Linked DNA regions of Homo sapiens: all the other regions are linked to region 1. The links are contacts of gene promoters, found by promoter capture Hi-C in blood cells and fetal thymus (Javierre and others, 2016). All regions are on one chromosome and are shown on one strand. Each heading gives the region's core, a stretch centred on a gene start or on the middle of the fragment in contact. The rest is flanking DNA. Distances are from core to core; before and after follow the strand shown.

Region 1 (4,026 bases), core at 625-3,124:
GACTGGGTGGGGTCGCCGCTGCTCTCTCCCTCGCTGGGGGCGGCAGCCTCTTGCCTGCGCGGAGGCGACTCAGAAGGCACGTCCGCCAGCAGGAGGGCGGGCGCCGCAGGGCTCTCGGTGGAGATGCGCTCCACGATGCTGGACAGGCAGTCTAGGCTCGACACCGCCGCACTCTTCCCGGGCCTGGGTTCTGCGCGGGGAGGGCTCGGTTAGTAAGCAGGGGTGGGGCCGCGACAAGCCTCCCACCCCCGGGCCCAGTACTTTGAGACAGATTGGAAACTGAGGACTTTAGTTAGAGTCCGGGACAATCCAAAAGACAGGGAGCTACTTGCTTAGTATTTCATCTCCTGCACCACTTCCCAGGACATAGGCGTGTGTGAGTGGGGGTGGGAGCGTCCTAGATAGAGGCCAGGACAGCTCCATGAAGGAGGAGGAGCGAGCAGGGAGAGGCCCGGAATACCCACCGCTGGGCGCCTCGTTGTAGTAGGCGCCTTCGTAGCAGTTCCGCCGCCGGGCGCCGCTCGGGGGGCCGCTGTAGTCCATCTGCAAACAGCAAGGGCGACTGAGTCAGGCCCGCGGGACGGCTCGAGGCCCGAACACCAATTCCTGTAGCCGCCCCCTCCCTAACTCTAGCCTAAGGCTCTAGTTCCGGGCCCAGACCTGTCCTGGTTGGGGGGGTAATTACGGGTGGGTAGGAGATGAGGTCTGCAACATGCAGGGCCAAACCAAGGGCGGACAGTCACCAAGGGGCGCAAATTTACATTTTGGAAGTAGGGATAAGTAGAGAAAAAGATCTTCACGTTCGCGCTGCAGTGTTCTAATAGCGCCCCCAATGGGGCAGCTCGAACGCTTGCCCGCACACTTCCAAAACAGGCTACCCCAGTGACAGCTGCCCAGGACAAGGGGGTCCTCTCTCTCGGGAAGGATCCTGGCCCAAACCTCCCGCAAGGCCAGCTCCCCGCCCTCGGAAACGCGTCCCTGATATCCCGAGCGCCGCCCTAACTTCCTCACTTCCTGGGGTCCCGGCCTTACCATGCCGTCGGAGCAGTTGGAGCGCGGGCTGGACGCGTCGGAGTCGCCGCTGTAGTGCTCGCCGCCGCGGCCCGGGGGCAGCGGGCCCGGCGCATAGAAGGCGGCTGCGGCGCCAGGGGGCGCGGCGTCCTGGTCGCGCAGCAGAGCCTGCAGGCCCTCGATATAGCGGATGGCGTTGCGCAGGATCTCCACCTTGGGCAACCGCTGGTTTGGATTGCTCGACGTGCAGCGCTTGAGTGTCTCAAAGGCCTCATTTACTTTGCTCAGGCGGCGCCGCTCGCGCATGGTGGCGGCCTTGCGGCGGTCGGCGTTGGTGGTCTTGCGCTTGCACGCCTTGCAGGCCCACAGTAGGCAGCGGCCCGCCTGGTGGTGCCCGCTGGGCGCGCGCACATGCTCGTCCTCACGTGCGCCCGGGGCCGGGTGCACCGCCGCGGGGAAGTGCGAGTGCTCTTCGGGTTTCAGGAGCGCGCCCACGTGCATCAGGCGCGGGTCCAGGTCTTCGAAGAAGCGCAGGTCCGGGGAGTCGAAACACGGGTCGTCATAGAAGTCGTCCGTTGTGGCAAAGGAGCAGAGAGAGCCGTCGGGGGCCGTCAGGTCTACGTCGCGGAGCGGTGGCGACAGTAGCTCCATATCCTGGCGGTGGCGCGGCACGGTCCTGGCTTCGCCCAACCCAAGCGGCAGAGAGTGGCCGGAACTTTCTGCCGCTCGGGAGCCCCGGCTGTAGATAGCAAAGTGCTGGCAGTCTGAATGCCCACCCACTGTCCCCCACCCCTCCCTCTCCTGTCCGGCCTGATTTGTGGTTAAGGAAAGCGGCGGCAGCGCCCCAGGGCTTCCTCACCCCTAGCTTCTCGCCAGGCGCCCTGGGCTATTTATCCGTAGTAGCCTAAACGCCCCGGAGCCCAGGCGGGCAGCTGGGGGAGGGGGAGTCCGAGGCCAATAGGAACACTGCGGGGCGGGGCTTGGGGGGGTCCCCGGGGTGGCCGCAGGGGCCCGCAGACTGGCCAGCCAGCCCGCCCCTCCACACTGGCGTGCGCGCTAGGTCCCCTACCGGGCAGGGAGGGAGGGAGCGACCGGCAGCCCTAGGCGGCTGCACTTGGCTCTCCGGCACGCCCTTTCCAAACCTCTCCAACACCCGACTGCTGTATCCGCGGGAAACGCTGGCTGCGCGCGCTCACCTCTGAGCTGACTTTCAATACTCCTCTGTCCCCTGATTTGTGGGGGACCCATGGGTAGAGCGGCTGTAGAAATCAGGTCGTGAGAGATTTGGAGAGAGGCAAGGCATTGGGGGCACAGAGCTGAGGAGTGAGACCGTGAAAGAGGGACCGAAAGAGGCTGAGAGACACGCAGAAAGCAGAAAGCTTAGAGCGTCAGGGGCAGAGAAACGCACGAGTGCAACAACAGGCGGAGAGACCCCGAGAGTTGAAGTGGGCGAGCCCGAGACAAACGGGTCGTAGAGGCTCTGATATTCCGCCAGTCCCCGACCTGGGAGTTGCTCAGCAGGTCGTGGGCCCAGTCCTTCTTCCCTAGACGCTTAGAAACCCAGCTATGGTTGTACAGGAATCGGAGATTGCTGCTAAAGCTTCGCGCCAATCTCTCCAAACTCGGATCCTGCCCAGGTTAGGAATCCCCTCCATCTAAATCTGCACGTTTCCACAGCAGGGGTGTCCAGTGCCATGCCTGGGGTCTAGGCTGAGCTGCCTCTTCAGCTGGGAAGAAAACCCTTCTGCTCGGGGCTTGGCTCCGCCTCACTCGCGGTGCTGAGTCAAGGAAAGTGCATTTCGCCAAGGTGTCAAACTTCAGGACCTGGCCTGAGAACCTGACCTCATCTCACCTGAAGTCTCCGAGAGTGCGGTTTGCAGACCAGTTGAGTGCAGACTCCAGAGTTTCCCAACTGTGTGATTTTGTGGAAGTCATGTCTCCTTCCTGAGCCTCAGTTTCCAGTTATAGATTTGGGGATGACAGTAATTTCTTGGAGTAATTGTGGTGGGGATGACAGTCTGAAGAGACCAAGGATATGGAAGCCCTCAGGCGGTGATGTAGGGTTATTCGAGCAAGGGGCTTTCAGAGTTGGATGCTGTGTCCCGCAGGCTTACAACTCATCTGTGGTACCATGCCCTGACGGAGTGCCACGAGTCTCCAGGCCTTAGCTGTGTCTCTTTCCTGCAGCCTCACTGGAAAGGCTGGAAACAGGAGGAGGCAACCACCCCATGGGATGTGGGATATCTGGCTCCCATACAAGCCTCAGCATACCGGCCACCCCCATGGGGGTCTCTCAGCCTCTTCCTGAATCTGCAGTTCACACAGTCCTCTCAGCACTCTGGCTAGGAATCTCCGTTGGCCATACATCCCTGCCTGGATCTCCCCTCCTGGAAACCAGAAATTTAAGCAGGAGTGATCTTTGTGCCTTTCCCACTAACTTCTGGAAGGCATTCTAGCTGGCCGTTCTGGGCCCTAAGAAGTCCTCCCTTCCCACAAAACTCAGAGGGCTCTGTTGGGGTCCTAACTTCTTCACTTCTCTGCTGCTGGTAGTGGTGCTGAAGGTCTCCCTTCATGAAGTACTCACCTCGCTTTACTCCATAGGGCCCACCTGTATTTGTTCATTCAGTAAAGTCTACATCATGGAGCAGCAGTGACAGTAACTCTAAATCCTGGCAGAGGCAGCAAAGTCCTGGCCTCACCCCACCCAAGCTGCAGGGGGTCACCCGGAAATCCACATATTGTTAGGTATCCATTATGTGGCAGGTACCAGTCCAAGTGTGGGGCTAGAGCAATGAACAAAACCAAGACTCTGCTTACATGGCACTTACATTGTCAATGTAAGCAGGGTGATAGACAATGAACAAATAAGCAAGGAAGTATGTGATGCCAGGAGGTTAGAAGCCTTATGAAGAAAAAGCAAGGCAGGGAGACACAGTGATGAAGATTATGGAGTGATTAGAGAAGGCCTCTCTGCTACATTTAAGCAGAGACCTGAATGAAGAGAATTGGAAGCAG
Region 2 (4,026 bases), core at 506-3,005, 210 kb before region 1:
TTGGATGATAACATTAGACCTAACTTGACATTGAGTTTCATTCCAGGAAAACAGATATTTTAAAATCAAATGTATTATTTTAAAACTTAGTTGGAGTTAAACATTAATGTATAATTCAGTATAGCCTTTATCATCATGAGCACTTTTTATTACATGATTGTCCATGCATTTTAAAATATAATGATGCTCTTTAATTAGGGCCACTGAATTAGTATGCATAAAAACAATCCATTTCTCATTATACTCTCCCTGCTCCCAGCCACCCAGCTTGAAGTTGCTCTGCCTCTCCATTTGTTCCGCATCTCTATTCCCACCCCAATGCAATGACAAACAAGAAAAGATAAATCCAAGCAGTAGCTCTGGGCAGCAACTAAGCTGTGCTGGGTTGATTTCACCACCTGGTGGCAGAGGCTAAGAAATGTTTCAATATTCCTTCATTACCTCCTTTCTCCTTCTATGGCTCCTTTCTCCTCTTAGGGCTGATCCTCCCATCTTTCTTTTTTTATTCAGAGCTCAACAAATTCAACTCTAAGCAGTCTCTTTCTCATATGTGCACACATTTATTTTTCCATCCTTTCAAAAATTCTACCTTCATTTTAAAATTATTGACCCCAGGAACATTTATTGCTCCTTTCCTTCTTACTTGCCATCCTCTTATTTATGAATTTTTTTTAAAAAGTGACCTTAATTATGATTGCTGAGTCTGAGAGATCTGCCAGCGAATGTGTGGGAACACCCTTTGAAGTGATGGGCTCTCAGTTGAAGAAAAGGCCTATATTTGGAAATGAAGCACCACACAGGAAAAGGCCTAGGGCCTTAGGCCGCAGAGGTTTTTGAACACGCGCAGACATTCCCTGTTGCATTAGCAGAGCATTTCTTTCTTTCTTTCTTTTTTATTATACTTAAGTTTTAGGGCACATGTGCACAACGTGCAGGTTTGTTACATATGTATACATGTAGCACAGCATTTCTTTCTCTTCCTTCTCTGACAAAGCTGTTTTTTTTTCCAAAACACCAATATTTAAGATACATTGAAAAACCTGTTCTTACCCAGTTTTATTGCTTTTCTCTTAGGTTTAATTGAAAGCTTAGTTTTCTACTGTTTTTACTGCAAACATGCAGCAGTTTGGATGCTTTAGGGCAGTGACTCTCAAACCTCAGCATGCATCAGAATCACTTGGAGGACTTGTTAAAACACAGATTGCTGGGCGTCACTCCCAGAGTTTCTGATTCAGTAGGTCTGGGAAGGAGCCTGAGAATTTGGTTTCTAACAAGTTCCCAGGTGGTGTTGATACTTAAGGTCTGGGACTATGCTTTGAGAACCACAGCCCCAGTATTAAGTGGTCTTTTATAATGCAGATATTGGGTGATGTTTTGCAGTCCATTCTTTGGCCTAAGTGCTCACAGAAGTCACCTTGTGGCATATGGACTGGGTTCTAGTTTGCCACTTTTTCTTTCACAGCTGGGACCACTTGACCTTTAGGCTGAGACTTTGTCTAAGGACAGTAATTGTGTCTTATTACTGTGGTTCTCCAGCCCTAAGAAGAATGGGTAGGACATATTAAATGGCATTTAGTGAATGTTGGGTATGTGTTTGGATGGAGGTGGTTAGTATTGCAAGGCAGCAGGCCCAGGACATTTGAGTATTATTTGCAGTGTTTCTGTAAGAAAAAGGTTCTGGGTTATGAATGGGCTACCTTACTGTGTGTGGCATTACATGTTTGTGAAGTAGGCATTATATTTTTGCCCCCATGTTCTTTCTGATAGTAGTATGATTTTTATTGCAGGTCAGCAATTCATTATAGATATTGCTGTTATTACAATGGAAACAAAGGAGAAAATTGTTTTCTGGGTAAATTTCATTTGGCAGTTATATTGATTAGTCTTTCTAATACTCTACCTAATCTTATTTAAAATAAGAAAGAATACCTGAAATACAGAAGCAAGTGACAAATAAATGATAGCTGTTTCAGGGAGTGCCTGTGATGATATTATCTAGTAAATTGCAAATGCAGAAGGAACAGGTGCAGTGCTGAATTGGGAGACTAAATAGGCTCAGGAAATACCATATTAGCTCTTCCTTATGACCATTTTTTCTGCAGTGTAATTGAGAGCAGTGTAGCAGACGTCAGCTCAGTGGTGTGCGTGATTGAAGAGTTCTCCTTTTGCCTGCTGATTACAGCTGACTGACATGCAGCTAGCATCTCAGATCTTTCTCACTGTAAGGGCCCTTAGACACTATCCTAGTCTAATCCCTTCGATTTACAGATGGTGAAATGAGACCTGAATAAGGGAAACTCTTGTCCCAAATCACACATCCAGTAGGTGGCAGAGTTTGGACTTGAACCCTGTCATCTGATTCTAGGTGTAGTCCTCCTGTTGTGCTGTGTTGCCTTTAACCTCACTGGTCTAACTAAGCTTACTTGTAGACCTTTGGATTCCATTAAGTTACCTATGGACAGCATAGATGGGGAAGGGAGTTTTGTATGCTTTTGTCTAAATGCTTCAAAAGCCAAAAGGAATGGGCTCAGTCTCTGCCATCTTCTCCCCATGGCTGCAGCCATTGGATCCTCCATCTGTAGGCTTAGTCGTGGGCCTAGTATTGTACCTTGGTCAGACACACTGAAGGAGCTCAAGTTCAAAGCTTGGGAGTCAGTAAGATGTCATCTGGGATGCTATCTTTGACCTTCCCTTATTCCTGTGCCTGAATCCTGTTTTGATAAGTTCTGATAGAATTGGGGCCCTGCCTTGGTGTTGTCAACTCTTTCGTAACTATAGGCAAGTTGGGAAGTGGGTAGGAGGATAACATTTGTTGAGCATCTATTTTGTGCCAGTTACTTTACCCACATCATGTTATTTAATCTTCACTACATCTCTATGAAGTTTTGTCTGTGTTTCACACATGAGGAACTAAGGCTCAGAGAGATTATGGGACTTGCTTAAGGTAACCTAGCTAATGAGTGGTACAGCTGGGGTTCAGATTTGGGTCTGTTGAGCTCCAAATCCTGCACTTATTCCGCTATATCTCTCAGAGCCTGTAGCTTGGCTATAAATCCCAGTTTGTTCATTTGTTCAGTGAATATGTATCGAATCCTACTATATTCTAGCCTCTGTGCTCGTAACTGGAGAGGCAGTCCCCGCTCACATGGAGCTTACCATCTATCTGAGACTATAAAGTAATGATGGATGTGTAGAATGTTAAAAAGGAAATGCTGTAGGAATATAGAGCAGACAAGCCTAATCTAGTCCAGGGTGGGATGGGGGAATAAATCAGGCAAGACCTCTTGGAAGAGGAAACATTTACACAGAGAACTGTGTTGAAGCATGAAACAACCTTGCAAAAGACCTGAAGGAAGGCTAGAGTGGCAGGAACATAGTAAGCAGTAGTAGGCTGATGTTCTGCTGCCTGCCTGCCTAGCACAGCGCCTGGCATATAATGGGAACCCACAAATGTTTGCTGAACAAATGCATGAATGGCTAAAACAATGAATGAATGGCAATGCTGAAAGCTCATTTTGCTTGTTATATAAAAACATAATAAGTTACCTTGGGATGATTCATAGTTCCAAACAGCTTTTTCCTCCAGCTCCTCTTGTCTTTCTGTTGTTTTGGGTTTCCTTGCTATATTTTGAATGTCCACACACGTGTCCTGCCTTTCCTTCACAGCCATGGGGTGTCTTCCTGTCTCAAAGAGAGCAAAAACTGAGCTGCCCTATTATCCTCTTAGTGGCTGCCTTGAGCATGAAGTTTGAAATAGCGTCAGTGATTTGATTTTTTCCTCTGGGGATCTGGCAATTGAAAATAAATGTAGAAAGAGCCCCAAAGGAGTTTTTTCTTGGGGGCATGAGAGATGACAGCACCAGTTATTGGTGCACTTTGACAATGCCGAGTTATGTAAGTGGATGAAAAATAAAGGCTATTCCACCAAAGTCAGCTTGCCTTACTTAAGTGATTTTATATTCACAAAAGTGGGTGGTCCAAAGTGTTCTGTAATTCTGCTATTTGCAAAATTCCTAGTTTATGACA
Region 3 (4,026 bases), core at 1,527-4,026, 170 kb after region 1:
GAAGCTCTGGACTCATCTTGATGTAGACAGCCGAGGCACCATCCCAGGCCAGTGTGAAGGCTGACTGATGCCGCACGATGACATAGCCGGCAAGCTGCTGCAGACGCGCGCTCCCCATGACATGTGGCAGTTGGACCCTGCAGGGCACATCCCAGAGCTTCAGGGTATCCACAACACCTCCACTAGCCCAGTCTCTTCACCGAAGGAACAGCCAGTCCCTACCCCATGATCCAAGGCCCCCACTTCCCCTCCCCATGAATTCCCAGAATTCCCAGGTGCCTGGAAGTATACCATTAGAGATGGATTCTTTTGTCTTTAGAAATTTTTTAAGACGGCAATTTCCTGGGCAGGAATAAATCTTAGAGTGAGTGACTCCAAGTTCCTTTCTCCCAGACAGGATAGAATATAAACAAACATCTGCTTTATTTTTTTGGTGGGGAGCAGGAACCAAGTGGAAACAGAAGCCAAGAGAGGAGGAAAACTGGGAGTGCAAGAAAAGATGGCGGGCTCCAGCAGCCTTGACCACTTTCCCAGTTTTCCTGGTACAGGGACCCCTAGCCAACCTGGAATTTGGCAACCTTGAACCCAGCAAAATTTCAGGAAAGGGAAACAAAAGTACTGTCTAACTAGCCACAAGACCCATTTACCAACTCTTCATTCACAGGAGAAACCTATAGGCCATCAATTTTACACTCAGCCCCAGAACAATTGCTTGGTCACCCAGTTTCCAGATCTGAAGCAGGAGATGAGGACAGGGAGAAGTGTCATTACAGGAAGACCCCATGACAGCAACAAGAAGTGACAGTGGACAGCAAGGAAAGGAAAGAACAGTGAGGAAGAGATGCAGGAAAGATTTCACAAAGGACCACAGTCTGGGGCATTTTAGTATGGGAGCAAGGGGTCCCCACTCCTCTGGTGGTCCTCCAAGCATCCCTGTTGGCCCAGCAAGATAACTGACATTCACAATGACCCTGTGTCATCAGAAATGGAAGTGTACTCCGAATCTGCTGAGAGGAGGTAGAAACTGTGTATGATCCATTTGGGAAGATTTTGGGAGGGAAAAGTAAGCATGCTTATCATGATAAACTCTCAACTCACTGGAAAACTCTATTTTCCTGAAAGCCTGCTGTCTGGAAATCTGCAATATCTGAGAGTTCCAGGAAAAAAAAAATCATTCTGCAAACCCCACTGGCAAGAAACCCAGTGATCTGCCAGTATGCTTCCGCCCAGATAGTGGAAATTGCTGTTTGTCCCCAGAAAACAATTTCCTTTGGGCTTGAGAAGAGCGGATGCTCACCCATCCACCACCACCAGTGTCAGGGATAGGACAGCTCGATGTGGAAGGTGTTAGAGTTACCTCATGCCTCCATGGGTGACCTCCTTGGCCAGATGGATCTCCTGCTCACCCACAAAGAAGAGGCTGACAGCCCTGGAGCAGGTGTAGGGTGAAGAGCCACACTGCGGGTCATTGTGTACCTGAGTAGGGAGTTCAGAGGCTGGTTTGCAGGCTCCTGCCACAGGCCTGACCCTGAGCTTCACACCTTATTGAGTTTTCACTAATGCCGATGGCTGTCCCCTGCATACCAACTGCCTTTCCTCTGTGATCTCGCTCAGTCCCCATACATCACAGAGGGGAGGCAATGGATTCACAGAGAGGTGAAGTGACTAAGGCCACACACAGAAAACTAGGAAATCCCAGAGCTGGGATTCTAGCCCCGGTCTGGATGGCTCAGATTCCAGGGCTCTTCCCAGTCAATCATGCCATCTCCGTATTTCTGAACTTTTCTCTTTATCCTACCCAGGAAATACCATCAGATTGAAGGCCAACAGACATACTCCACCATCTCACACTCATACAGAACACAAACACACACATCTATACACACCCCATAAATTTCTCCCATGACACTCTCAGTGCACACACTATACACACACTCCCCTTCCCCCATGCCCCTGGCAGGTACAGATTGTAACTTTCCCCTACACCCATCGGCACACATCTCACTCCTGTGCTGCTGTCACACACACACACACACACACACACACATCTCTGCCCCCGCCATTCAGACAGAACCCAGACTTCAAAGGCCATAGACCCAAAGGACGGGGTGGGGTAGAGGGGAGAGCTTCCCAGAGCTTATCCCTGCCAAGTGTGGAAACCCTTCCCAGGAAGGCACCTTCCATCAGATTACTGTTCAATGTGATTAAGCAGGCTGGAGCCACTTCAACTACAAGTGGGAACTGTGAAAGCTACCCCATGGTCTAACTAAAGGGTTTTCAAGCTTTTGTGACCATGACCTACAATAAGAAATATATATAACTAAAAATTTTACAAAATAATACTTATCTCTATCATGCGTAATACACTCTTACAATATTTTCTATTTTATTTGTCTCATTTTTTAATGATGGTTGTGATTCGTTAAGTTGATTTTGTAACCCACGAGTGTATGGCAATGCATTAGTCTAAGTAATTGTAACATATCCATCATGAAATGATAGGTCATGAAAATCTCTGCTATGTGATAGGCCGAGGCAGAGAGAGGAAAATTGGTTGCAGTTCCCCGCCCATCCAGGGCATGGCCCCTAGAGCAGTCTCATAGGTCCATGACTGAGACAGAAGGATCACAAATGGCTAGCAGAGGGGAGACACTGAACACTGGGGTCTCCCCACACCCCCAACCCCTTGACCCTAACTCAGTACTGACCAAGGTGCCCTCCAACAGAGCTGGTTCTCCAAAGAGACTTTCCTCCAGGTGGAGGGGTATTGAGCTGTGGCTGAAGGTGACTCCCAGTTTAGCACACAGGTTAGGCATGAAAATCAGGCCTGCATGACAGTGGCTTTCACACGTGTTCCTATATTTCACAAACCTTTACTGAGCACCAATCCAGGCACTGTCAAAGAGAGAGACATGACCCCTGGCCTAGGAAGCTCACAGCTGGTAGAGAAAACCAACCCAAAACCAGACCTTTGTAAGAGAAATACAATGACAGCGTCATAATATGGAACTTTGAGTTACCCAGTGAGGAGCTCTTCAGCCAGCTTGGAAGGTCAGGAGATCCAGGGTGGCTTCTTAGAGGAGGTGACTCTAAACTGAGTCACCCAGGACCTCCATCATTTCTCTGAGGCCCTAGTCTCTTTCTTAGCACCCAATGATCTTTTTCCCCAGAATGTTCTCAAGTCTGCCCACACTCTCCTACTCTTCACTTGGCTAACTCCAATTTATTCCTTAAACCTCAACTTAAATGTGACTTTCTCCAGGAAGCTTTCCCAGGTCACCATCCTTCCGAATAAACAGGATTAGGTTTTCAGGACATGTTCGTTTAGCATTTGGCATTTCTCCTCCATAGCACTCATTTGCACCTGAAATGAGTCCTCTGATTTGATGTCCTTCTTCATTAGACTATAAGTTCTGAGAAGACAAAGATTATACCTGTGTTGTTGTCTACAGGGCCTCCCGCCACCAGACCTTATGCCAGAAAAGAGTACAGTATGCACTTAGTAAATACTTGATGAATGAGTGGCTCAATAAATGAATGGCCAGGGTGAGTGGGTGAGCGAGAGCTGTGGAGTCCCCAGCTCCTTCCAGGTGCAGACTGCCTGGGTGGGAGCTGGGGGGCGATGCAAGGAGGAAGGTGCCAGTCTCTCTAACTATGACAAGTAGAGCCCAGGCCAGTGCAGCCTCCAGGGCCTAGAGAAGCATTCCTGGACAGGCAAGGCAGGGGAGGCCTCACCTGGATGGAGAAGCTCTGTCCCTCGGGCTCATGGCGACCCACCAGGGTGTAGCTGCCCTTTCCGGAGAGGTAGTAGTAGAGCCCATCAAATGTCTCCACGTGGTGCTGCCCCCACGCCCGGCAAATGCTGTCCCTCTCAGGGCCGGCATTGTACACTGAGGGAGAGAAAAGAGAACCTCTCTGTGTAGCTACAGTGGGCACCAAGCCAGAGGCTGGTGGGTTCCAGCCCTGGAAGTGCTGCTCCCTTTCTCCCTAGCTTTCCCTGCACCCAGGTCCCTTCCTGGGGGTGGG

What was found. The method cuts DNA at HindIII sites, captures the fragments that hold promoters and counts their contacts. A CHiCAGO score of 5 or more calls a contact.
Region 2: a fragment that was not itself captured here is called in contact with the fragment with the promoter of MYOD1 in region 1 in 1 of 17 cell types (fetal thymus); the score reaches 5.0 in fetal thymus.
Region 3: a contact is called between a fragment that was not itself captured here and the fragment with the promoter of MYOD1 in region 1, in 1 of 17 cell types (endothelial precursors). The highest score is 5.1, in endothelial precursors.

What each region holds. Positions count from the first base shown.
Region 1 is chr11:17,717,419-17,721,444 of GRCh38, reverse strand. MYOD1 (myogenic differentiation 1) reads right to left here and starts at 1,874. Exons shown (of 3, transcript NM_002478.5): 1 at 1,033-1,874; 2 at 465-543; 3 at 1-190. The coding sequence starts at 1,662. RefSeq lists enhancers at 1-413, 414-925. The HindIII fragment of the contact is 6,670 bases long and covers 1-2,392 here.
Region 2 is chr11:17,929,038-17,933,063 of GRCh38, reverse strand. All of the region lies in intron 9 of SERGEF (secretion regulating guanine nucleotide exchange factor), which reads left to right. Among named protein-coding and RNA genes, the nearest start is that of SERGEF, 82 kb to the left of the region's middle. The HindIII fragment of the contact is 1,331 bases long and covers 1,090-2,420 here.
Region 3 is chr11:17,553,229-17,557,254 of GRCh38, reverse strand. It overlaps OTOG (otogelin), which reads right to left. Exons shown (of 56, transcript NM_001292063.2): 6 at 3,736-3,890; 7 at 1,358-1,476; 8 at 1-137. Among named protein-coding and RNA genes, the nearest start is that of OTOG, 8.0 kb to the right of the region's middle. The HindIII fragment of the contact is 984 bases long and covers 2,285-3,268 here.